Regions from separate parts of the Homo sapiens genome. Here regions 1, 2, 4, 5, 6 and 7 are each linked to region 3. Evidence: promoter capture Hi-C in 16 types of primary human blood cells and fetal thymus (Javierre and others, 2016). All regions are on one chromosome and are shown on one strand. The core of a region is centred on a gene start or on the middle of the fragment in contact, and the rest is flanking DNA. Distances in the headings are between cores, read along the strand shown. Region 1 holds the start of PCDHA2 (protocadherin alpha 2). Region 2 overlaps LOC105378198 (a long non-coding RNA gene). Region 3 holds the start of PCDHB14 (protocadherin beta 14). Region 4 overlaps PCDHA1 (protocadherin alpha 1). Region 5 holds the start of PCDHA7 (protocadherin alpha 7). Region 6 overlaps DIAPH1 (diaphanous related formin 1). Region 7 has its middle 16 kb from the start of PCDHA1.

The links. Contacts are between HindIII fragments. The CHiCAGO score rates a contact against its expected background, and 5 or more counts as called.
Region 1: a contact is called between the fragment with the promoter of PCDHA2 here and the fragment with the promoter of PCDHB14 in region 3, in 8 of 17 cell types (M2 macrophages, M1 macrophages, erythroblasts and 5 more). The highest score is 17.5, in M2 macrophages.
Region 2: a fragment that was not itself captured here is called in contact with the fragment with the promoter of PCDHB14 in region 3 in 2 of 17 cell types (M2 macrophages and M1 macrophages); the score reaches 6.0 in M2 macrophages.
Region 4: a fragment that was not itself captured here is called in contact with the fragment with the promoter of PCDHB14 in region 3 in 4 of 17 cell types (M2 macrophages, M1 macrophages, M0 macrophages and 1 more); the score reaches 9.2 in M2 macrophages.
Region 5: the fragment with the promoter of PCDHA7 here is called in contact with the fragment with the promoter of PCDHB14 in region 3 in 5 of 17 cell types (M0 macrophages, neutrophils, erythroblasts and 2 more); the score reaches 7.0 in M0 macrophages.
Region 6: a contact is called between a fragment that was not itself captured here and the fragment with the promoter of PCDHB14 in region 3, in 3 of 17 cell types (endothelial precursors, fetal thymus and total B cells). The highest score is 7.2, in endothelial precursors.
Region 7: a fragment that was not itself captured here is called in contact with the fragment with the promoter of PCDHB14 in region 3 in 5 of 17 cell types (erythroblasts, M1 macrophages, M0 macrophages and 2 more); the score reaches 10.9 in erythroblasts.

The regions. Positions count from the first base shown.
Region 1 is chr5:140,793,545-140,796,397 of GRCh38, forward strand. PCDHA2 (protocadherin alpha 2) reads left to right here and starts at 1,308. Exons shown (of 4, transcript NM_018905.3): 1 at 1,308-2,853. The coding sequence starts at 1,421. All of the region lies in intron 1 of PCDHA1 (protocadherin alpha 1), which reads left to right. It also overlaps PCDHA@. The HindIII fragment of the contact is 8,329 bases long and covers 1-2,853 here.
Region 2 is chr5:140,739,115-140,742,087 of GRCh38, forward strand. All of the region lies in intron 3 of LOC105378198 (a long non-coding RNA gene), which reads left to right. Among named protein-coding and RNA genes, the nearest start is that of ZMAT2, 40 kb to the left of the region's middle. The HindIII fragment of the contact is 1,719 bases long and covers 736-2,454 here.
Region 3 is chr5:141,221,910-141,224,884 of GRCh38, forward strand. PCDHB14 (protocadherin beta 14) reads left to right here and starts at 1,434. Exons shown (of 1, transcript NM_018934.4): 1 at 1,434-2,975. The coding sequence starts at 1,597. It also overlaps PCDHB@. The HindIII fragment of the contact is 16,360 bases long and covers 624-2,975 here.
Region 4 is chr5:140,889,672-140,892,468 of GRCh38, forward strand. The region is part of intron 1 of PCDHA1 (protocadherin alpha 1); the gene reads left to right. The region is part of intron 1 of PCDHA2 (protocadherin alpha 2); the gene reads left to right. The region is part of intron 1 of PCDHA3 (protocadherin alpha 3); the gene reads left to right. All of the region lies in intron 1 of PCDHA4 (protocadherin alpha 4), which reads left to right. It also overlaps PCDHA5, PCDHA6, PCDHA7, PCDHA8, PCDHA9 and PCDHA10, and 4 more genes. Among named protein-coding and RNA genes, the nearest start is that of PCDHA13, 8.9 kb to the left of the region's middle. The HindIII fragment of the contact is 2,103 bases long and covers 325-2,427 here.
Region 5 is chr5:140,833,014-140,835,713 of GRCh38, forward strand. It overlaps PCDHA7 (protocadherin alpha 7), which reads left to right and starts at 1,256. Exons shown (of 4, transcript NM_018910.3): 1 at 1,256-2,700. The coding sequence starts at 1,371. The region is part of intron 1 of PCDHA1 (protocadherin alpha 1); the gene reads left to right. All of the region lies in intron 1 of PCDHA2 (protocadherin alpha 2), which reads left to right. The region is part of intron 1 of PCDHA3 (protocadherin alpha 3); the gene reads left to right. It also overlaps PCDHA4, PCDHA5, PCDHA6 and PCDHA@. RefSeq lists an enhancer at 2,549-2,700. The HindIII fragment of the contact is 15,813 bases long and covers 1-2,700 here.
Region 6 is chr5:141,576,584-141,579,451 of GRCh38, forward strand. DIAPH1 (diaphanous related formin 1) reads right to left here. Exons shown (of 28, transcript NM_005219.5): 9 at 2,505-2,613; 10 at 1,932-2,042; 11 at 1,642-1,760; 12 at 892-1,008; 13 at 173-288. Among named protein-coding and RNA genes, the nearest start is that of DIAPH1-AS1, 20 kb to the left of the region's middle. The HindIII fragment of the contact is 661 bases long and covers 1,161-1,821 here.
Region 7 is chr5:140,768,867-140,771,709 of GRCh38, forward strand. No RefSeq gene overlaps it. Among named protein-coding and RNA genes, the nearest start is that of PCDHA1, 16 kb to the right of the region's middle. The HindIII fragment of the contact is 3,232 bases long and covers 1-2,843 here.

The sequences.
Region 1 (2,853 bases), core at 58-2,557, 430 kb before region 3:
TTGCAATTAATTTTACTTCTCTCTTTGCTCTAGGAAGCTGAAAACAAAATTGGTGACATGGTTAGAGTAACTGAAGGTGACCCTTTATTATGGATTTTGTATGCTATCCCACTCCTTGATTCATTTTATTTCATCCTCATCTTATCTTTATTCTATTTTCATTTTTTTACTGTGAAGGGATCAGCTAAAAATTAACAAAAGAAGATATTCTCAAGTAATTAACACAAAAAAAGAGATCGATTGTATTGTTCTTGCATAAAAGTCTAAATGTAATGGAAAAGGAATATTCTAAAGTAATAGTACATTATCCAAATGAGAAACAAATAAATTATTAATTTCAAAACATTTGCAAACAATTCAAAAATCAAAATTAAATCACAAAACAACAGTATATATACACATATATTTTCAATGGACTAAAATACCTTTGATTACTATGTTCTTCATTTGAAGAAATAGTGAAAAATGCTAATATATCCAAAAGAATTGAAAGCAGGGTCTCAAAGAAATATATGCACACCCATGTTCATGGCAGCACTGTTCACAACAGTCAAGAAATGGAAGCAACTCAAATGTCCACGAATACTTGAATGAATAAACAAAACGTGGTGTATACATATGTTGGACTATTATTCAGCCTTAAAAAGGAAAGAAGTCCTGTCACATGTTACAATATGGATGAACCTTGAGGAACCATCCACGGATGCTTGAATGAATAAACAAAACGTGGTGTATACATACGATGGACTAGTATTCAGCCTTAAAAAGGAAATAAATCTTGTCACATGCTACAACATGGATGAACCTTGAGGACATTGTGCTAAGTGAAATAGGCCAGTCACAAAAAGACAAATACTTTACGAGTCCACTTACACGAAATATCTAAAGTAGTGAAATTCATAGAAATAGAAAATAGGACTGTGGTTACCAGAGACTGGAGTGACGGTGAAAAGCGGAGTTGTTGTCTAATGGGTATAGAGTTTCTGTTTTCCAAGATGAAAAATTTGTAACAATGTGAATATACTTAACATTACTGAAATGTACATTTAATCATAGTTAATATGGTAATTTTAAATATTATGTTGTGTGTTTTTTAACCAGAGTAAAAAAGGGTAAAAAGGTAATATATTTTAGGGCTTAAAATAGTTATTTTTTTCCAAGATGAAAGCTATGAGTAAACTTAAACCAGAAAATCGACTAGTTTTAAATCTACAGAATAAACAGTAGAGCCTTCCTTTTAGCCACATGATGTCGCTGTCCACCATAGAGTGTTCTCTAGGAAGGAAAATACCCAGAGCCCCTTTGTTACTTCAGAGAAGCGGAGGAATAAGAGAAGCAGCAGGACTTTAACAGAGACTAGAATATTTAAATTTTTGCAAAACATGCTCTTCTAATTTGATCAAAACATTGAGGATTGGTAATGGCGTCTTCTATCAGAAGGGGCCGAGGGGCCTGGACACGGCTGCTCTCGCTTCTGCTCCTCGCAGCCTGGGAGGTGGGGAGCGGCCAGCTCCGCTACTCCGTCCCCGAGGAGGCCAAACACGGCACCTTCGTGGGCCGCATCGCGCAGGACCTGGGGCTGGAGCTGGAGGAGCTGGTGCCGCGCCTGTTCCGGGTGGCGTCCAAAAGACACGGGGACCTTCTGGAGGTAAATCTGCAGAATGGCATTTTGTTTGTGAATTCTCGGATCGACCGGGAGGAGCTGTGCGGGCGGAGCGCGGAATGTAGCATCCACGTGGAGGTGATCGTGGACAGGCCGCTGCAGGTTTTCCATGTGGAAGTGGAGGTGAAGGACATTAACGACAACCCGCCAATATTTCCAATGACAGTAAAGACTATCCGGTTTCCCGAATCAAGGCTGCTTGATTCTCGGTTTCCTCTAGAGGGAGCATCTGATGCAGATATAGGAGTAAATGCTCTTCTCTCCTACAAGCTCAGCTCCAGTGAGTTTTTCTTCCTAGATATACAGGCAAATGATGAACTAAGCGAATCTTTGTCTCTCGTGCTGGGGAAATCGCTGGACAGAGAGGAAACTGCTGAGGTTAATTTGTTACTGGTGGCTACTGATGGGGGCAAACCTGAGCTCACGGGCACCGTTCAAATACTTATTAAGGTATTAGATGTAAATGACAATGAACCAACTTTTGCCCAATCAGTTTACAAAGTAAAATTGTTAGAGAATACGGCAAATGGGACCTTAGTGGTTAAGTTAAACGCTTCTGATGCAGATGAAGGACCGAACAGCGAGATTGTGTATTCACTCGGTAGTGATGTGTCCTCCACTATACAGACTAAGTTTACCATAGATCCCATCTCAGGGGAAATCAGAACTAAGGGAAAATTAGATTATGAAGAAGCAAAGTCCTACGAGATTCAGGTCACTGCAACTGACAAAGGAACCCCTTCAATGTCAGGACATTGTAAAATTTCATTAAAACTTGTGGACATCAATGATAACACACCAGAAGTCTCAATAACGTCTCTCTCACTTCCCATCTCAGAGAACGCTTCCCTGGGCACTGTCATTGCTCTCATCACGGTGTCGGATCGCGACTCTGGTACGAATGGACATGTCACCTGCTCCCTGACGCCCCACGTCCCTTTCAAGCTGGTGTCCACCTTCAAGAATTACTACTCGTTGGTGCTGGACAGCGCCCTGGACCGCGAGAGCGTGTCAGCCTATGAGCTGGTGGTGACCGCACGGGACGGGGGCTCGCCTTCACTGTGGGCCACCACCAGCGTGTCCATCGAGGTGGCCGACGTGAACGACAACGCGCCGGCGTTCGCACAGCCTGAGTACACAGTATTCGTGAAGGAGAACAACCCGCCGGGCTGCCACATCTTCACGGTGTC
Region 2 (2,973 bases), core at 345-2,844, 480 kb before region 3:
CTCACTGCCAATTTAATATTTTTAAATTTTAAAACCTATTTTATTTTTAAAAATTTTACTTCTGACCCATGAGATGTAATTAATATTTGTTTTTATAATGAAGCGTCAGGTTTGTTTTTCTTATAAATGACCTTTCATGAATATTTACTTCCATGTTCAGAAAATTTGCTATTCTTATTACCTACTAGTTTTTCTGTAAATTTGCTGGATATTATAATGTTTATAATCATATTAACTCTAAATAAGGAGAGTTTTATACTCGTATTAACTCTAAACATACAGAGTTTTAACTCTAAATAAAAAAGTTTCATATAAGAAGGTGTATCTTCTCACTCATAAGTGGGAGCTAAGCTATGAGGCTGCAAAGGCATAAGAATGATACAGTGCACTTTGGGGACTCAGGGGTGTAGGGTGGGAAGTGGGTGAGGGATAAAAGACTACAAATTGAGTTCAATGTATACTGCTCTGGTGACGGGTACACCAATATCTCACAAATCACCACTAAAGAACTTACTCACGTAACCAAATACCACCTGTTCCCCAAAATCCTACGGAATAACCTCCTTATACTTTTCCCCTTCTTTTTCTAACCATGGAGAATGCCATATGAACACCTCAGACCTTTATATTTTTCTCTTGTTGTATACACTGGTTAGGCCCTTTGGAACAATGACGACAGGATGATTAAAGTGATGATAGCAGACATCCCTGTCTTGTTCTGGATTTCAAAGGGAAAGCTTTAATCATTTCACCATTAAGTATGATGTTTGCTTTAGCTTTTTTTTTTTCCCCTGGACACCCTTACCAAGTTACAAATATTCTCTTATATGCCTAAGGATACAACTAATATCTGCTAAAAATCTTAAGATTAATTAAGATTATTTTAAAATCATGAAAGGTTGTTGAATTTTATTAAGTAATTTTTCTGCATGTACATAGATAATCATGATTTTCCCTTTAGTTCATTAACTTTGCATATATACTAATTACTTTTATAATGTTAAGTCAACCTCATATCTTGGAGAAATTCTACTTATGCTGTATTATTCTTTTTTATGTACTACTGGATTTAATTTTCTAATAATTAGTATGGGTTTTTTTTCATTTATTTACATTAATGACATTAGACTGGGCTTTTCCTTTTTTGTGTGTATTTTTTACAATAGGATTCACTATCAGGTTATTTTAGCATTAGAAAATCATTTAGGAAGTGTTCCTTCTTATTAATTAGGATAGTTTGTATATGATTGAAATGACTTAATTTTTCTTTTCTTTCTTTTTCTTTTATTGAGACAGGCTCTTGCTCTCTCACCCAGGCTGGAATGCAGTGGTGCGATCATGGCTCACTGCAGCTTCCACCTCCTGGGCTCAAGCGATCCTCCTGCCTCAACCTCTCAAGAATCTGGGACCACAGGCACATACCACACGCCCAGCTAATTTTTTATTTTTAGTCGCGATGAGGTCTCACTGTGTTGCATGGGATGATCTCGAACTCCTGGGCTCAAGCCATCCTCCTACCTCGGCCTCCCAAAGTGTTGGGATTATAGGTGTGAGCCACTGTGCCTGGCCCTAACAATTCTTTGTTAGATGAATATTCATGTTAACATTTTTATGCCTTTGCAAAATATAATTCCCAGCAGAACATGGTCATATACCATGATTGTCTCCTTTTCTTCTTTCTACTTTTCCTGAAGTTAATGCTTGACTTTTCTTCATGTGCTTAGTTTTCCTTGGACCTCTTGTTAATTTTTTGCACATTCTTCAATAACTCTTAGTACAGTTTTCTATGTGGTATATCATTTCAGGTAATCAGAGAAAGTATTAATACAAAAGAGCTATAAGATACCAGAATGTTTAGGCCCAGATCCAGAGAGGAGTAATTGTTGTGGGTTATTACCTAGTAACCAGGTAACAATGAAGCTCTGGTAGCTTTAAAGACCCAAGGCTGGCATTTGGCAGTTTGGGAGGATTTCATGGGTCTGACTCATGTACTGGCTGTGAAAGTTGATTTGAGCTAAAATGACCCCGGTTTGGTCATCTGGGAAGCACTGAGGCTGGTCCAAGACTTGTGGCAGGTAGCCACTGAGTGGGAGGAGGGAGAGTGAGCCTAGACACAGCTGGGGGAACAGTTTTTAGGGAAAGGAAGACATGGGTTTCTCTCAGTGGTGTGCATCCTCAAATGGGGGCTTCCCAAGTTTGTGTGTCCTGGTCTGGAAGTTGTGGTGGGTAGAAGGAAACTTAAAACTCAGCATCGTTCTTGAACCATTCAGGCCTAGGCTGACCCTACTGCCCAGGGTATACCAACTCATGACACTTATCTGTCAAGGAACTCCAAATTCAATCTACTTTCTGCATTATCTCAGTGATATATTTGCATGCTTCTTCCTGTCTGTGTTTTGGGGGCAGGTTTGATGTCCATGGACCCTCTTTAGTCCTCTATGTATGTCCCCACCAAGCTTATCATTTTCTTGGAGATGGGAGAGAGCCCTTTTTCAAGGAGGGGTCTAAAACGGCATGGATTCCTGAGAAGACTAGGCTGGGTCAGGAGCTGAAGAGGTTTAAGGTTGGGACAGAAACTCTGGAGGTTAGCCTTGGTAAGAGTCTTTTGAGACCTACTCCATGAGTAAATCTGCTCTTCACCAAATTTCCAGATCCCCACAGTTCCTCTGAGCAGCTTCTCACTACTGTCATCTCTCCCAGATATGAACCAAATCCCTGGTTGCCAAGACAAGTTGACAAGGTTTGAAAAAGAAACTATTTTGAAACAGAACTTCAAGGAAAAATAAGAACCCATTCTCAGGCAAATCCTAGCAGCTTTGATTAGTAAAGAAACAGCAGTCCTTGTTTGATTCAGACAGTTTATTACTTACATAGACACAAAAGGAAATAAGCAGAATTTCCAGCTCTCCCACAGGACAGCACCAATACAAAAGGGGATGGCAACCTGAGTAATGAGACACCCTGTTGCTGAGG
Region 3 (2,975 bases), core at 184-2,683:
ATTTCATCTCCTCATACCTTTCTATTCATCCCTCTTCTCTCCATCCACACTGGCATTATCCTCATCCAGATCATCATCTCTTATCTGATCTCCTTGATTCTCCAGTCACTCCCCCTGAAATTAATTCTCCATACTGCAGCCAAACTGATTTTTTAAAATGCAGATGTAATCATGTTAATCAGATATTTAAAACCCATCTTTGTACTTGAATTACCTTTAGGATAAATTCAAGAATGCATGATATGACCTGTATAATGATTCATGTTCTCACCATGCTTTTAACCCTAATTTCATTGTTAGACCCTCCCCTTCCATAGTTTTTAAAGTCCAAGGCATACTTCATTTCTCTGTGTTCCTCAAAATGCCCATCTGAAATATTCCTCCTTCTCCTGGCTAGTTCCTTCAGATCACAATGTATTTTTCATTACCTCAGGAAAGCTTTCACTGATGTCCCAAGTCCGACTTTGATCTTAATTATTTTATTTTTGACAGACACTTAACCAGCACTTACAAACCACTTTGTAAATATTAATTCATTAGATGCCTACGATAATAATCATAGGAGACAAATATTATTACCCCATTTTACAGGTGAGGAAACAAAGGTATCTATAACTTGCCCAAGCTTATAGATAGTAAGTCACATAACCAGGATTCTAATATTGATAATTTGGTTCCAGATCCCATATTCCCAAGCACTAAGGTATGCAGCCTCCTAGGTACAAGAAGTCTTTTCTAGGTATTTCTATATTACTTTTTATAAATGCATACATTATGACATACTTCGTTTACTTGTCTGCCAATTTTTCTAGCTTGTGAGCTCTGTAAGAGCAAGAATTATCTCTAACTTATTTGTGCCATGTCCTTCTTTATATTTTTAAAATATAAAAGTGAAAAAAGTAATGATATTACCAACTATAGCTGACAACAAGTATTTACAAGAGTGAAGGAGATAATATATTTGTAATTACTCGAGAAATGACTTAAATAAAAAATTATTTCTTCAGTTCAGAATATTTTAACAGATCCTTTAGTGCCGAGCATTCAAAACAGTGATAATGCAGTGTATGGACTTTTCTGGATTCAAATTCAAACAAACCAACAGCAAAGGACATTTTGGAGAGAACTGGGGAAAACCAAATGCAGTATAAATTACACCAAGGAATTATTGCTCAAGTTGTTGATTGTGAACGTTTTATTACAATTATCTTTTAGAAGGCCTTACCTATTAAAAATACTTAGTGAAGTATTTAAAGGAAAAAAAATGATGTCTGGGATTTGTTTCGAATGTTCCGGATGTATTTATGAATTACTTTTTCAAAGAGGAAAACTTTTTTAATGAAAAAAAAAACATGGAGACACATGGTGGCGCTACAGGATAAGACGAAAACAGTACATAGGCTGGCACGGTGAGCTTCGCTATTCAGGAGAACAGAAAGCATCCAACCCACTGAAAAGACAGGCATTAAAGGAGCTTCGCCTACAGAGCTGCTGGAGGATACACTCTCCAGGGGGTTCCTGTTAAAAACCAGAGCTTCAGCTTCCAAAATTACGGCTGAGCTTCAGTTTTTCCACAAGAGATTGCCTAAAGGAACCATGGAGATCAGAGGGGCACTCGATCTGCGAAAAAGGCAAGTTCTAATATTCCTTGTTTTGCTGGGATTGTCTCGGGCAGGTACTGAATCTGCACACTATTCTGTGGCAGAGGAAACAGAAATTGGCTCTTTTGTGGCTAATCTAGCGAGGGACCTAGGGCTGGGGGTGGAGGAGCTGTCTTCACGTGAAGCCCGGGTAGTGTCTGATGATAATAAAAAGTATTTGCACCTTGATTTGCTGACTGGGAATTTGCTCCTAAATGAGAAACTAGACCGAGACGAGCTGTGTGGCTCCACCGAGCCCTGTGTGCTGCATTTTCAGGTGGTTTTGGAAAACCCTTTACAGTTTTTTCGGTTTGAGCTGTGTGTCAAAGACATAAATGATCACTCCCCTACATTTCTAGACAAGGAAATACTTATTAAAATATCAGAAGGTACCACTGTTGGAGCTACCTTTCTAATGGAGAGTGCTCAAGATTTGGATGTCGGAAGCAACAGTCTCCAAAACTACACAATTAGCCCCAATTCTCACTTCTACATTAAAATTCCCGACAGTAGTGACAGAAAGATATACCCAGAGCTGGTCCTAGATAGAGCTTTAGATTATGAACAGGAAGCTGAACTCAGATTAACACTCACAGCAGTGGATGGTGGATCCCCGCCCAAGTCTGGGACAACTTTGGTTCTCATCAAGGTGTTGGACATCAATGATAATGCCCCTGAGTTTCCTCAGAGTCTCTATGAGGTGCAAGTCCCCGAGGACAGACCCCTTGGCTCCTGGATTGCCACCATCTCAGCTAAGGATCTGGATGCAGGAAACTATGGAAAAATATCTTACACATTTTTCCATGCATCAGAAGATATTCGTAAAACATTTGAAATTAATCCAATATCTGGGGAAGTTAATTTGAGATCACCCCTGGATTTTGAAGTAATACAGTCCTACACTATAAATATTCAGGCAACAGATGGTGGGGGTCTTTCAGGAAAATGCACCCTTCTAGTTAAAGTTATGGATATAAACGACAACCCACCAGAAGTGACCATATCGTCGATTACAAAGAGAATTCCAGAGAATGCCTCAGAGACCCTAGTAGCTCTTTTTAGTATCCTAGACCAAGACTCTGGAGACAATGGGAGGATGATTTGCTCTATTCAAGATAACCTCCCTTTTTTCCTGAAACCGACCTTCAAGAACTTTTTCACTCTAGTTTCTGAAAAAGCACTGGACAGAGAGAGCCAAGCCGAGTACAACATCACGATCACCGTCACAGACTTGGGGACACCCAGGCTGAAAACCGAGTACAACATAACCGTGCTGCTCTCTGACGTCAATGACAACGCCCCCACCTTCACCCAAACCTCCTACACCCTGTTCGT
Region 4 (2,797 bases), core at 126-2,625, 330 kb before region 3:
TTTTAAACCTTTTAGTATTATGGGCATATTCCACAAGTTCTTTGCTACTGTCTCACTGAGTAGCAGAGTCTAATTTTTCTTTCCTTGAACTTTGACTGGTCTTAATATTGGAAGTAACATTCTGGGATTTATGAAGTCAGGTCATAAGAAGTCTTACAGTATGCTTTGGTCTCTGAGAATATTTGTTTTGGGGGAAGCCTGCCACCATGTAAGAATTCTGACTACCTTGAGATTGTCATACTGTAAAGAAGCTCAAGCTGGACTTGTGAGAAGCCAAATGGATAGAAAAATTACTATCCAGTCTCCAGTTGTCTTAGCTTTCCAAGCTTAGGTGCCAGAAAAATGTAGAAGGCTTCAGGTGACTGTAGTGTGTTGGAGCTGGCTCTTTTACTGGCTTATGAGAACTGATAATGCAAATTTATTCCCAACTCTGGATTCAATGATGTCACTTTGGTAGCTTGAAATTGGCCATGGTAGGAGTATTTCTGCCACAGAAATAGGCAAATGCTACAAAACAGAGTTTTTTGTTTTTCTTTTTTCCCAGAGACCTAGTTGTTAAGCATTTACCAGTACACTACTGCACCTGATTGCAAGCAAGAACCACTCAGTTGAGTCAGAACCAGGAGAGGTAATATTAAGTTGTTTTAAGATATTAGGTAGTTGGGATGGTTTACTATATAGCAATGGATAACCTGAACAAGTACTCTTTCTTAGATAATCTATAAATTTTAACTTGAATATTTATTTAGTTTATATTTACAATACCTAGTGATATCTTTAGGCACAAATATTTCAATTTTTTGTGCGTTATTTTTGTCTCACCATTTTTATGTCTCTATTTCCTTCCTTTGTTGATCTTCTTTTGAAATGACTGAGTACTTTTTATTGTTCCATTTCCTTCTGTATTATTTGGAAGCCCTTTTCCGAATAGCTAGTGCTTACCCTAGAAAATTAAGCATGTATCCTTGATATATCAAAATCAAAAGTTAACTGAAACCCTTCCTCCTTCTGGGAAATGCAGGGACCTTACATTTTTAAAATCTTTTTAATCCCTTTTGACTTATATACTATTTCTGTCATGCTTTAAAAATATTTTAAAACCCCATAAGATATTAGTATTATTTTATACAATCAACATTGTTTTAAATGTACTTACATATTTACCAGTTTTGTTTCTCTTCCTTACTTCTTGCCCCTCTGACCTTTCATCAGGGATTATTGTCTTTCCATGTTAGAATAATTTGAGAGTTTCCTTTAGTCCAAAGATGCTGGTGAGGAATGATTTCAGGTTTTGTTTTTCTGAAAATGTCTTTATTTCATCATAATTATTGAAAAGCATTTTTTCTGAGGGTATAATCTTAGGTGTGACCCCCACAGCACATAGTAAATATTATTCCAGTGTCTACTGGTTTCCATTGTTGCTGTCAAGAATTTAGCTGTCAATCTAAATGTCATTCCTTTAAAGGTATTCTGTTTATTTTCCTTTGGCTGCTTTTCAGATTTTCTGTGTGTCTGATATTTTGCAGTTTTACCATGCTGTGTCTTTATAATCATCCTGTTCTGGATTCAGTAGGATTTTTTTTAATTTTTAATTTTTCCGTAAGTTATTGGGGGTACAGGTGGTATTTGATTACATGAGTAAGTTCTTTGGTGGTGATTTGTGAGATTTTGGTGCATCCATCACCTGAGCAGTATACATTGCACCATATTTGCAATCTTTTATCCCTCGCCACCCCCCACTCTTGCCCCCAAGTCCCCAACGTCCATTGTATAGGATTTTTGAATTTGTGAATTAATGCCTTTACATCACTTTGAGCATATCCTCAGCTATAATGTTCTCCAATGTTGCTTCTGTTCCATTGTATTTCTATAGTATTATTTTAGTACTCTAATTAAACATATTTTAATCTTATTACTCTATCCCATCTATTTCTACCTTTTATTTTAACACCTTTTGCTCTTTGGGCTTTATTGTGGATAGTTCACCCACCTTAAAGTTTAATAATTCTCTCTTCTTGCTGTTGTCTGAATTTGTACCCCCAAATTCATGTGTTGAAAATTCAATCCCTTATACAACAGTGTTGGGAGGTGGGGAATTTCAGGAAATGTTTAGATTATGAGGGATCTGCCCTCATGAATAAATTAACGGCACTGTAAAAGGACTTGATGGAAGGAGCCTGTCCCTCTCTTATGCTTTTGGCTCTGTCATGTGACGATGCAGCAAGAAGATCTTCACCAGATGCTGGTGCCTTGATCTTGGACTTCCCCTAGGCTCCAGAATTGTGAGAAGTAAATTTCCGTTCTCATAAATTACTCAGTCTGTGGCATTCTGTTATAGCAGCACAAATGGTCTAAGATACTTTTATTTATTCTTTTTCAAATTTATTGTTACTTTGTATAATTTCTAGTTTCCTCTCGAAACTTTCAAGCTTGGCATTTATATCTGGAACACAATAAGCTCATGGTTTTAGCGTCTATTTCTGATATGTCCAGTAACTGGGATCCTCATGGGTCTATTCCTGTGGTGTGTTTTAAAATTGTATCTTTATGGTGTTTTGTCTCCACATAAACCTGGTTATCTTTGATTTTGTGCTGAAAGTTGTATTAAACACTTCTTCCTGGAAATAATTTGGGGCTTATAACATTTTCTTTCTCCAGAATGGATTTTAATTGACTTTTGCCAGGCATCTTGGGGCACTAGCAATCATGGGTAATCTTAATCTATTTCAAGCTTCAGGTATTCTAGATAAAACCTCATTATCTAAAATTTACATGTATTCTTTAAGTACGGTTATTC
Region 5 (2,700 bases), core at 6-2,505, 390 kb before region 3:
TTCCCATAAGAGAGAGTGTGATATAAAGCAAGAAAAGTAATATGAGAAAAACCTTTTGTATAACTTTGAGTACTAGACGAGTAATTTTGACACTCTTCAAAGTCATTTGAAAGCTGTCAAAAAGTGTGAAGCAATACGAATAAAAAGTATTAACGGAAGATGACTGCAAGGATTAAATGAAGGAGAATGAAATAGGAATGGACAGGTTACACAATAAGAAGCTACTGCAATACACCAGGAGAGCAGCAATTATAAAAACTTATTTAGGAAAGCATCTGAATACAGACATAATTATTTTACATGCCATTGGGAACATTGGAGTGAAACATTCCAGAAAACGAACACAGTAAGGTAGATCCAAAAAGGATGAAATACCTCAAGACTTGATCAAAGGGCTGCTGTATGTGAGATGGCTGAGCACTGAAATTTATCTAATAAAATAAACTTACATTTTAAAAGAAATAATACAAATCATATTTGAGATTGTAAAAATAGGCATATATTCATAACACACAAGTGTTCGAAAGGATAGAATGAGGAAACAAATATAAAATGATGAACTCCTGAAACAGTATATATAGATTCTGCTAAAGCAAAAAATTCAGAATACTTCCTCCTCAAAAAGTTCACATGATACAAATTCTTCCCCTTCAAAGATTCCCCAAACCTTCTCTTATTTTGTTTTCCCAAGAGAAGTGTCTGGATAGTTGCTAATGTTTCTTGCCTCCTAAAAAGAAAACACACACACACACACCGCTTTCTAAGTTTCTCTTTCATCAATCAGTAGATTCTTGAGATCCTGGGTCCCTAAAAGAGTACAGGATTTTTCTTAACAAGCGATACTGAATCAAGAATATGAAGTTTCCTGGGATCTAGATCAAAGGAATTTAAACTTGCAGTTGTTTAAATTCATGTTGTCACTTAGGTTTCTATCTTTATTTAAAACTGTGTGAAAAAAAAGTTTTTCTAAGGCATGAGGAAGCTACAGTTCTGGTAACACTGAGTATTCAAAAGCCATCAGTCGCCTAAGAATGCTTCTAACAATCATGAGAAATGCTATTTTAACCTTTAACAACAATGAAGAAAAAAATTCAGAGTTTGAAATAAAACTTTTCATCTGATTAATAGTTTGTAATGGTTTGTAATTCTTACTTACATGATGGCCACATGATGTCGCTCTTTACCGCAAATTCTTTCGTAATCAGCAAAAGGAAGTCATTCCTTTTCGCACTGGAAAGACGCTCCACTCTCTTTCACTCTTTGGATGCACAACAATGGCCACACATCGAGATTGAAATGAAGGGATAAAAACATTCCTATAAATTCGAAGGCAAGTTTTGCTGACTAGAAAAACAAGCCAATAATTTGAAATGGTGTGCCCGAATGGATACGACCCAGGGGGCCGACATCTACTGCTGTTTATTATAATTCTAGCAGCTTGGGAGGCAGGGAGAGGCCAGCTCCACTACTCGGTCCCCGAGGAGGCTAAACATGGCAACTTCGTGGGCCGCATCGCGCAGGACCTGGGGCTGGAGCTGGCGGAGCTGGTGCCGCGCCTGTTCCGGGCGGTGTGCAAATTCCGTGGGGATCTTCTGGAGGTAAATCTGCAGAATGGCATTTTGTTTGTGAATTCTCGGATCGACCGCGAGGAGCTGTGCGGGCGGAGCGCGGAGTGCAGCATCCACCTGGAGGTGATCGTGGAAAGGCCGCTGCAGGTTTTCCATGTGGACGTGGAGGTGAAGGACATTAACGACAACCCTCCGGTGTTCCCAGCGACACAAAGGAATCTGTTCATCGCGGAATCCAGGCCGCTTGACTCTCGGTTTCCACTAGAGGGCGCGTCCGATGCAGATATCGGGGAGAACGCCCTGCTCACTTACAGACTGAGCCCCAATGAGTATTTCTTCCTGGACGTGCCAACCAGCAACCAGCAGGTAAAACCTCTTGGACTTGTATTACGGAAACTTTTAGACAGAGAAGAAACTCCGGAGCTTCATTTATTGCTCACGGCCACCGATGGAGGCAAACCCGAGCTGACTGGCACCGTTCAATTACTCATCACGGTACTGGACAACAATGACAATGCCCCAGTGTTCGACAGAACCCTGTATACGGTGAAATTACCAGAAAACGTTTCTATCGGAACGCTGGTGATTCACCCCAATGCCTCAGATTTAGACGAAGGCTTGAATGGGGATATTATTTACTCCTTCTCCAGTGATGTTTCTCCAGATATAAAATCCAAGTTCCACATGGACCCCTTAAGTGGGGCAATCACAGTGATAGGACATATGGATTTTGAAGAAAGTAGAGCACACAAGATCCCAGTCGAGGCTGTCGATAAAGGCTTCCCACCCCTGGCTGGTCATTGTACAGTTCTTGTGGAAGTTGTGGATGTAAATGACAATGCTCCACAGTTGACTCTCACTTCCCTGTCTCTCCCTATTCCAGAGGACGCCCAACCAGGTACCGTCATCACATTGATTAGCGTGTTTGACCGAGATTTTGGAGTCAACGGACAGGTTACCTGCTCCCTGACGCCCCGCGTTCCCTTCAAGTTGGTGTCCACCTTCAAGAATTACTATTCATTGGTGCTGGACAGCGCTCTGGACCGCGAGAGTGTGTCCGCCTATGAGCTGGTGGTTACCGCGCGGGACGGGGGCTCGCCTTCTCTGTGGGCCACTGCTAGCGTGTCCGTGG
Region 6 (2,868 bases), core at 241-2,740, 350 kb after region 3:
ACTAAAGACCTATAGATTCCTAGCAAAGATGCTGGTTATGACCTAAGAAAGGACAAAAATAGAACTATCTGGGGACTGGAAAGGTATCTTCTCTGACATTTTCACTGAAACAAGATGCAAAATGAAAGGAAGAAGCAATACTTGGAGGAGCCAGATAGAAGAGTATGCTTACCAATTAATCCCTCAATCTCAATCTGGAGGTGCCGGCACTTGAAGTCAGGATCAGCCCCGTTCTTGTGCAGAACTATCTGGGAAATACATTCTTCAATCAACTTATAGTACTGAGGTCTACAAGAGAATAAAAACAGGGTCATCAAAGGAAAATCAAAATATAATTTTCAGAAGTATTCAGGACCAAGAAAACGTAATTGCTCTGACAACTGAGAGACCTGGAAAAACTTTTGTAAAGTTAACACAAGTATTGCTGCCATGCTAAGAAAACTCCTTTTTCCACATCAGCTACCCTACCCTATCTACTTCAAATAATCAAAACTTCTTGCCATCCGCTCCTAGTGCCAATACTTTCCCATCTAAAAATTTGCGTTTGATCCTTCCTGTGATGGATAGTGCTATTGCTAAATCTATACTTCCAGGAAACTAGAAAGAATTTTAAATTGCCACTTCTGTTTGCTAACATCTTCATCCTATTTACCTACTCCCCTCCAAAAACAGAACGGCATTTCACCTTATACACTCTGACCTCTGCCATAGGGATGCCTTTGAGTTGGATTAAAGAAATAAGACAACTTCCTTTATATCGGTGACTAATGAACCCTAATCTTGGGTCTTTGTCTTTACATTTTCCTTTTACAGAACAATCTTTGAATTTAAGGAATTCACTCTCTCCACTTAGGCTCAAATTCAAAACTTCTCATAAGCACAGCATCTTACCTGGCCTCATAGTCATTTCGGACCAAGAGTAAGTGCTGCAGGATGGAAAGGAAGTGTGGCTCTGCCTTTGAATCCTTCACTGTGTTTAAGAGAATCTGAAAGACTTCATTAAAGTCAGTGGAAAAGGGAAATAGGCTAAGGAAAGCAAATATGCAGAAATTATGTTTGACAGGTGGCTTATTTAACTCTTGAAAAAGCTAGGGAAAAGTAGCAAGACACCACTTCCATTCTACTGGCTGTTCTTCCTGTAAACATCACCAGAAACTTTAAGCTTTCTAAAACGTCCTTTAAGGGACCAGTGAATTGGGTGGTACTATACACACAGAGGATTCCTAGTAAGTACTTGGCTTGAAGATCAGGCAGTAGACAGAAAATAAGAGGTAACTGCCTCAAAGTCACTTACTGAAAATATTAACAGGTAACTAAATTACTCCCTCTGTCAGTCCAAACATCTCTAAAAGCCAGTTCTACATCTTAGTAAGCTAAGCTATCACATTCTAGGAAGTTTACACTGATTTTGATGGCTTCCATGCTCAACAACCCTCAGATCACCTTTACTGACTTCCCTGATCTATGATAAGCTAAGTAAAGCCAGCGCAATAAAAATACACCTGCCTTATTTAATGAGAAGACACATAAGCCTGATGCTCTGTTCTGAGTCATCATCTCCCAAACCATTCCACACAGGGATCAGGGAACTAAATACAATGAATGTCTCATCTGCCTTGAACCTAGTCAGCAAAAGGATATTCCATCTCCATGCGAATGTCATCCAGCCGTCCCTTCAGGTCATAGGAATCCTCTTCCCCTTGTTCATCAAACACATTTAGTTGCACTCTCATATCTTCATTTTCAATCTCTCGAAGGTCCTGTCAACAACAAAAGTAGAAGTCAGGGAACCCAAAAGTATCCTCTGTGGTTAGAAACCTAAGCTTTTCAACCTGGTTTTTAATTGAAAACCAGAATTATCCCCGGGATTATTGGGGCTGTAGAGCAAGAAGGAACCAGTCTAGCCTTTCTAATGAAGTGTAATATCTTACCTGCAACACCTGATGTAGCCCCAAACGCATCAGTTCACTTCTGATGTGAACTCGGAAGTCAAGTTCCTCCGCTGGTGTGATGAGAGCATTGATCAGCTGTAGGCATCCAACCTAAAATAAGAAAATTCAGCAGCTATGTCAATGCTAACTCCTGGAGATCAAGAATCCATTTTCTTTACATGCATTCTTAGGTCCCCAATACAACCTGAAAGATACAATACAAAAACTCTAAAGATGACTTTTCTACTATAGCAATGAGACCTGGTTTGAGTACAGATCCGGAGAGCCTAAACTCTAAATGGTTTCAAGGATTTGAGAGTATATGTTATTGTAGGTCTTGGTTTTCCTAGATTGTAAATAGATATCATGCCTTTTTCCATCTCATAATGAGGAAAACAGTTCATTCTTTACCTTCTTAGAAAGAAGGTTAATCATTTTCCCTTCATAACAGATTCTGAAATGTAAAATATATAGTTGGGAGGCACTCCATGTATTTTATTAAAAGGTCAAATGAATTTAAGTCTGTCCATCTTGAATTCTATTCTTGGGCCCAGTTTCAGGGGATATACATGCCTTCAGTGCAATAGTGGTTCCACTTTTTAATCCATCCAGCAGCGGCTGGAAACGTTCCACTTCATCCATCTCAGCTCTTTCTGTCATTGCCTCCAAAACCCTTTCATTCCTGCCCAAGAGAAAGGAAACGGAGAGAACTTTCCAGGTACTGTGACACGGACACGTATAATGAGTAAATTACACAGGGGCACAGACCGATTAGGAAACAGGACATTATCAGTGTTCCGGATTTCTCACATTATTATTCTCACCACTCAGTTTCCAGAAACTGCTGAAAGCTAAGGACCATCTCTTCAGGGAAATGCATTCCCTACAATCCATCCCTAGGCTCCTGTCCATAAATACCAAATCAAGTCCCCTATTC
Region 7 (2,843 bases), core at 195-2,694, 450 kb before region 3:
AAGCATAATATCTTCCTCCAGATGTCTGTGGGTTTGTAGTCACCTTGTAGCTTTTAGGAGCAGTGCCTGTGTCTTAGTCTGTTTAGTAATGCTGTAACAGTCTAGTGGGACCACATAGTTTATAAAGAAATGATTAGTCTCATGGTTCTGGTGACTGGAAAGTTCAAGATTGCATATTTCCATCTGAGGGTCTCAGGCTGCCACATATCATGGTGGAATGTGGAAGGTTAGGCAGTGTGCAAAGAGATCAAATGATAAGAGAGGAGGCAGATGTTTATGTGTGCATGCCAGGTTCTTTTTAACTACCAGCTCTCGTAGGAACTATTTAGAGCATAAACTCACTAACCCAGCAGGGAAGGTATTAATCTATTCATGAGGTATCCACCTTCATGAACCAAATGCTTCCCACTAGGTCCTACCTCCTAACATTGCCACAATGGGGATCAAATTTCAACATGAAGCCTGGAGGGGACAAACATTAAAATTATAGCCACCTGCAAATTCTTTAACCTTCAAACAATCAAACACTTTGCTTCAGTCCTTCAGTTGTTTCCCTAGACAGATTAGAAGAGACAAACAAAAAAAATTGTAAATGAAGTCTGCTCTTCACCCTTTGGTTCTAGGGAAGGAACTGGGAACTGTGCTGTCACCAATTCAAGACCATGTTTGATATTGTGCCAGGAAGAAGGTCAGGCAAGGAAGAGTAAAATCATCACCAAATGTTTCTTTCTGAGACAGGGTCTTTCTCTGTTTTCCAGGCTGTTTTCATTTTTATTTTTTGGTAGAGATGGAGTCTGACTACCCAGGCTAGTCTCAAACTCCTGGCCCAAGCAAACCTCCTACCTTGGCCTCCCAAATTGCTGGGATTACAGGCATGGGCCACAGCTCCTGGCTAGATTTTTTTTTTCTTACAGTCTAAATATGTTCATAGATTTTTTTTTCTTGATTGGGCGTTTACTTGGTTGTTGTAGACCTTTGACTGTTTTTTGTTTTGTTGATGTTTCTGTTGGGGGACAAAAGTTCGGAGCCTCCTTGTTCATGATTTTGCTGTCTTCGCTTCTGATTTTATAATTAAACTTGTTGATATGGTTTGGATATTTGTATCCTCCAAATCTGATGTTAAAATGTGATCTCCAATTTTGGAGGTGAGCCTAGTGGGAGGTATTTTGGTCATGGAGGTGGATCCCTCATGAATGGCTTGGTGCCCTCCCTGTGGTAATAAATGAATTCTCACTTTATTAGTTCACATGATAGCTACTTATTTACAGGAGCCTGGCACCTCTCTTGCCATGTGATATGCCTGCTCCCCTTTCACCTTCTCTCTCCCTTTTTTTTTTTTTTTTGAGACAGAGTCTCACTCTGTCGCCCAGGCTGGAGTGCAGTGGAGCGATGTCAGCTCATTGCAACCTCCACTTCCCTCGTTCAAGCAATTCTCCTGCCTCAGCCTCCAGAGTAGTGGGGACTACAGGCGCGTGCTACCACACCGGGCTAATCTTTGTATTTTTTTAAGTAGAGATGGGGTTTCACTATGTTGGCCAGGCTGGTCTCGAACTCCTGACCTCATGACCTGCCCGCCTTGGCCTCCCAAAGTGCTGGGGTTACAGGCATGAGCCACCATGCCTGGCCTCCTCCTTCACCTTCTATTATGAATAAAAGCTCCTGAGGCCTCAGGAATAAGAGGCTATCAGAAATAGATGTTGCCACCATGCTTCTTGTACAGTCTGCCAAACCATTGGCCAAATAAACCTATTTTCTTTATATAGTACTGACCTCAGGTAGTCCTTTATAGCAAAGCAAATCAGATGAACACACTTATTATTTAAGATAATTGTAGGCTCACATGCAATTATAAGAAATAATAATCCTCTGTACTCTTTACCCACTTTTCCACAATGGTAACATCTTCCAAGACTATCAATATTACATCCAAAATATTGATATTGATGCAGTTAAGATCCAGAACATTTCCATTACTACAGAGATTCCTTATATTGCCCTTTTATGCCCATACTACCTTTCACCCCTGGCCCACCTCTTTCTTAACCCTTGCAACGACTAATCTGTTTTCCACTTTTAAAATGTTGTTATTTCCAGAATGATATATAAATAAAATCATACAGTATAAAACATTTTGTGATTAGTCATTTTCACTCAGCATAATTCTCTGGAAATTCATCCAGGTTATTGAATGTATTAATATAATGGAATAGAATTCCATTACATAGATGTTCCCCTGTTTATTATTCATCTGTTGAAGGACATCTGGGATGTTTTAAGTTCAGGAATATTATGAATGAAATTTGTATTACCATTTGTGTAAAGGTTTTTGTGTGAACACAAGTTTTTACTTCTATTAAATAAATGCCAAAGAATGCAATTATTGTTCTATATGAGAGGTCCATGGGTAGTTGGTTGCTTTGTTTTGTTTTTAAAGAAACTGCCTTACTCTTTATCAGAGTGGCTATAGCAGTTTGCATTATCACCAGAATGTATGAGTAATCTAGTTTCTCTGAATTTTTTTCTAACATTTGGTGTTTTCAACATTTTATCTGAGTCATTCTGATAGGTATCTAATAATACCCAATTGTAGTTTTATTGCTCCTCCCTAATAGCTACTGGCATTGAAAATATGTTCATGTGTTTCTTTGCCTTCTTGGATATTTTCTTTGGTAAAATGTCTTTTCATATCCAGGTTCTAATTGGGCTGTTTGCTTTTTTACTGTTGAGTTTTGACTGTTCTTTTATATGTACTAGATATAAGTGTGTTGTCAGATATGTGCTTGCAAACATTTTCTCCAAAATTTTAGCTTTATCTTTTATGCTTTTAATATGTTTTTTTTAAA